Regions from separate parts of the Homo sapiens genome. Here region 2 is linked to region 1. Evidence: promoter capture Hi-C in 16 types of primary human blood cells and fetal thymus (Javierre and others, 2016). All regions are on one chromosome and are shown on one strand. The core of a region is centred on a gene start or on the middle of the fragment in contact, and the rest is flanking DNA. Distances in the headings are between cores, read along the strand shown.

Region 1 (2,564 bases), core at 20-2,519:
CCAATCAGAGGCCAGGTACCCATGAACCCGGCTCGGCGTGGTCTTTTAATAATTAAATCAGGGCTGCCATTGACCTCAACTAACGCCAGGGGCTTCTGACTGCAGCCGAGCTCTGGTGGAAAGGCCGATGCCGGCCTGAGAGTGGGAAACGTGGGGCCGGGAGCCGGGGGCTTCCGCGCGGCGTGGCGTGGCGTGGCGTGGCGTGGCGCCCTCAGGGCCGTTACGCGATTTTCGCTCCCGCGGGCAGCGCCTCTCAGGCCACTCCCGAGGGACCCCGAGGACGCACTCGGGCCCCAGGGCGACGGTTCAAACGGGCCATTGTGCGCCCCCGGGGTCCCCCGGCCCCTGCAGGGCTACTTGGGCGCAGAGCCGCGGAGGGTCTCCGTTCCTAGAGGTCCTCCTATCCCGGGCTGCCTGAGTCCTCGCCAGCATCCGCCCTCTCCCACTCCCATCCTTCCTGGATCCGCCTCTCGGTTCCCGAGGGACAGTCCCGACCGCAAACCCACGTAGAGTAAGGAATGTGGGACAGGCGACAGAAGTGGCATACGGTCCTGCGTTATCCCTCCGTCTCGCCACACCTTGTGTCTCCATCTCTCCCCACTTCCTTCCCTCCGTCTGTCATCTGTCATCCCCGGTCGCTCTAAGACCAGGATTCCAATTCGCCTAGTGAGGAATCTCACTAGGGGAATTTATCGCGACATCATAAATTAACGGGTTCATTTTGACTGAAAAAGCGAAGGACTTTTTTCAGGCAGAAAACAAGTCTCGTCTGGACGGTAAGGACTAGCTTTAGCAATTATATAATGGGGGGTGGGGAGGACCTTTTGTATAAATTTAATGAGCTGATGAGAAAGTTCTACGGTTTTGACAAAAAAGTCCACCTAAATATTCGACTGTATGCCAGAAATTACTACACGTTTAGATATCAACTAAAAATATACAAAGGATACACGGTGTTTTCAGAACCCTTTCAAGCGGTTCTTAAACAAAAAAGTCTAGTCCGATGCCCATTAGCGCCGCCCCCATCCCACCTCTTACCTCCCACCGAGCCCAGCGGGTGGGCAGGAGGGGCCTGATTTGGGGACCAGGAAGGAGGAAGGAAGGGTGGGGGCGGGGGACGGGGAAAGTGACGGGAGCAGTGAGAGCCGGAAATGAGTGGCTAGCGAGGCACCCAGGAGCGCCCTGTCCGGCGGCGCTCTAGCCCTCGCGCACTGTCTCTATGCTCCCCAGCGTCTAGTCTATTTATTGTCGCGGGGAAGCTGCGGCCGCCTCGCACCCGGAACAACAAAGCAAGGAAGACGGAGTCCGAGCCTCGGGGGCTCCTAGCAACGGGCCGGGGCGGGAGTTCCATGGAGACTGGGGAGCGCGCCCGTCTCATCCTCATCCTTGTCCTCCAGCTTCTCCTTCGCATCCGACGCAACCGGCAGCAGCGCTGCCGCCGCGTCCTCAGCCACCGCTCCCTCTTCCCACGGTAACCCCCTAGGCGACCCTGGGCACAGGGAGCGCGGGCGGCTGAGCGGCCTGAGCACCGGGTGCGGGGCGTCTGGGCGCGGGGTGGGCATGTGCGGAGCCCGGGCCAGACTTGGGGTGGGATGTGTGGGGGCGGGCGACTGGAGGGCAGCCGCTGAGGTGGGGGAAACCGGTCCGGTGGCCGAGGGAGGGCTCAGTTCTGAAGAGGACCGGGCGATATTTGGGGATCTCTTTAGGGATAACGGGTTGGGGGTGGGGCGTCCGTACCTGGGAGCGTTACCGAGCCTGGTGTAGGATAAGAAAAGAAGGGTTATCTTTCGTTTAAGCCACCACTGGGAAAGACGGGGAAAAGAGATTCCTCATCTGTCTCGGAGCCATCACCCAGGGGAAGAGGGACCGTGCAAAGATGCTAGGGGTCCGTTGCTTCTCAGAAAACTTACAGCGGCTTCTCTAATAGCTCCCAAAAAGCGGCTTCGTCGGTTTCTGATTCTGGCAATGCCGGCAGCCTCGCTTTATTTTATTATTATTTTTGACCAAAATTAGGATTGATGGAGAAGGATCTAGAACTGAAGAAGAGAAAATGAATTGTGGGTAGGGCTAAGCAGGGATGAGAGTCGGGATAAGTGATAAAAATAGCCAATAAAAGCCCTAAAAGTAAATCTAATAGGGCATGAGGGCTTAAAAAGAAAATCTCTCCTGCCGAGATGTGCATCTGCAGGCTCTGTCAATGTGCTCATTGCAATAAGACTCAAACTGCAGTCAATCCACATCTGTGAGCTCTCTGACTGCATCTGTCACCTGCAGTTCCAAAGCGACACTGGCAGTAAGTGCATGAGCTTCTGTATTTAGGGTTTAGAACAGTGCCTTAAAACTGTGACTTAAGAAAAGGGAGCAGGTTTGCGTGTGTGTGTGTAAGCAATGTGGATTCTCTGGGAAAATATAAAAAGAGACATAAGAAGGTTCAGCCATCCTGGCATAATTTCGCAGTCTCTTTGAGAAAATGGCAGTTCCTTCCTATTGAGAAGTGACTGTTAGCACTATCTGGTTGAAAGGATTATTCACAGTTTGGTATGCCCAGTGAAATATCAGTTTAT
Region 2 (2,564 bases), core at 29-2,528, 1.0 Mb after region 1:
ATGAACATATTACTCATACCACATAAACAATTTACAAAAATTTTTTTTTAAAGAAGGGAAATGTTAAAATCCCCAGTCAGGGCTGGGAAAAGGCTATGATAGATTAGGATAGCTTCAATGGCACTTATTGCTAATGTTTTAATCATTAGTAGAGGGAACAGTTTATGGGGTTTTCTTGTTTTTAATCTACATATTAATTACAAATGTTCTTTTGCTTGTATTAAATACTATATAACAAAAATTTAAAGACTTTATCATTTAGAACAGTTTTATATTTATAGAAATACTGCAGCCAGTTTCCCCCCAATATGAACATCTTATACTAGAATAGTACATTTGCCACAGTTAAGGAGCCAGTAGTGATACATTCTTAACTAAACTCCGTAATTTATTGATGTTTCCTTAGCTTTTACTTAATGTCTTTGGTACAGGATCCCACTCATGACACATTACATTTCCTTATGTCTCCTTAGGTCCTCATGGCAATGAGTTTCTCAGATTTTTCTTATGTTTGATGACCTTCACAGTTTTAATGAGTATTGGTCAAGAATTTTGTAGGATGCTCCTCTATTAAAATTTGCCTGATATTTTTCTCATGATTAGAGTGGTGTTGTGAGTTTTTAGGAGGAAGATCAAAAAGTGCCATCTTCACCACATTATTATACATAGATATATATCAGTATGTATAATCAACATGACGTCACTCGATGTTAACCTTGATCACTTGGCTGAAGTAGTACTTGTCAGGTTTTTCCATTATAAAATTCTTTTCACTGCTTTTCCATACCGTACTCTTTGGAAGGAAGTCACTATGCTCAGCCCCACACATGAGGGGTGGAGTGTTACGTTCTACCTCCGTGAAGACAAAGTATCTACATAAATTATTTGAAATGCTTTTAAAAGGGAGATTTGTCTCTTCATTTCCCCTATCTTATTTATTCAACCTCCCTTTATTTATTCAATCATTTATTCATATTGGTATGGACTCATGGGTATATTTCCTAAGGACAGTCATTCTGTTTCTTTTCTAGGTTTTTTAGTTAAATGTTTATTTAGTTAGTTTTTCCATAAGCTTATAGTAAAAAATTTAAGGATATACTGATTTCTTTCCATTACATACAAATATATACACATATACACATGCATATATGTAAAATATATTTGTTGTATACACATGTAATACATAGGTATATGTATTACACACATTTTAAAAAATCTTTACTTTGCTGATTTATTTCTATTACTTTGTATTCCACAAATGATTTCAGATGACTTACAGAAATAAAAATACATACATTATAATAGGTTGTGGGGGAGAAAATATTAGGAAGAATGAAAAATAAGTGCTTGCAAACAAGATAAAGCCAGGGATACGGGTAGTTTACAAAATGCCTAAGATCCTGTACAGTTTGGGGCCTCAAATTTGGCTGTCAGCTTCCTGGCAGCCAAAACAAAGAGAAAACCATCATGAGTATAAAGCTATCTGAAGCTTTAATAAGTAGTCTCATTTTCATTTTTGAAAATAATCTTAAATTTTCTTCATTAGGTTATTTAGAAGAGTGTCTTTTATATGTCCTATGACTAAGGTATTTCTAAAAACTCATTTTAATATATAGAACTTTTGAGTATTATGCTTTTGATAACCTGGGGTTTTCTTCATCACTAAGAATACTCAATTTTTGTAAATGAACATTTTAGAAGGTGTTTAAGGAAATAAGCCTAGCCACAGGTAAAACTCCTCAGATGAAAATGTCAGTATGCTGTCACGCAGGAGGCTCTCTGGGGCATCAACAGTATTTTGCTGAAATTACCATGGTTCGATATCTGGCTTATAGGCTTTGGGATCTGAATTTGTCAATATACTGAGAATAGACTCATTTAACTAAACTCAAGAGGTTGATATTTAACATTCAAATTCCAATTTATTTATGTACTATGAGAAGTATATCAGAAAACCCACAGATTCTTGTGTCCTCATTCCTGGCACATTCCCTTCCTCTAATTAAACTACTTGAATTGCCAAATAATCAAACTTCAGCACATTTATTCTTACCTTCAGCAGAACTTATGCAGCTCAGTAAAAGTTAAAGGACCAACAAGGAACCAGAAGAGACATTAGACAATCAAAATTCAACAGTATTTGAATCTATCTCAGAGTTATGTATTTATCCTCTGATTGGGCCTGGCCTGGCCAAGGGAGCCAGGGAGTCTTTCCTTTCTGGACAGAGTGCAATCATTTGAATATTTATGTCCTTGCAAAATTCATGATGAAATTTAATTCCCAATATAACAGTATTAAGAGTTGAGACCTTTTAATTACAAAATTGGGCCATGAGGGCTCCATCCTCCTGCATGAGATTAGTGTCCTTATAAAAGCACTTGAGGGAGCAAGTTTCTGCCTTCAGCTCTTCTGCCTCATGTGAACACGGTGTTTGTCCCTTCTGCCATGTGAGGACACAGCAAGAGATGTCATGTTTGAGGCAGACAGCCTTCACCAGACACCACATGTGTTGGTGTCTTGATCTTGGACTTCCCAGCCTCTAGAACGTTAAGACATAAATGGC

What was found. The method cuts DNA at HindIII sites, captures the fragments that hold promoters and counts their contacts. A CHiCAGO score of 5 or more calls a contact.
Region 2: a fragment that was not itself captured here is called in contact with the fragment with the promoter of TBPL1 in region 1 in 1 of 17 cell types (M0 macrophages); the score reaches 5.6 in M0 macrophages.

What each region holds. Positions count from the first base shown.
Region 1 is chr6:133,951,955-133,954,518 of GRCh38, forward strand. TBPL1 (TATA-box binding protein like 1) reads left to right here and starts at 1,270. Exons shown (of 7, transcript NM_004865.4): 1 at 1,270-1,471. It overlaps LOC128092253 (umcharacterized LOC128092253), which reads left to right and starts at 1,350. Exons shown (of 2, transcript NM_001414965.1): 1 at 1,350-1,471. The coding sequence starts at 1,350. RefSeq lists a silencer at 268-377. The HindIII fragment of the contact is 10,274 bases long and covers 1-2,564 here.
Region 2 is chr6:134,956,874-134,959,437 of GRCh38, forward strand. No RefSeq gene overlaps it. Among named protein-coding and RNA genes, the nearest start is that of ALDH8A1, 8.1 kb to the left of the region's middle. RefSeq lists a silencer at 344-544. The HindIII fragment of the contact is 417 bases long and covers 1,071-1,487 here.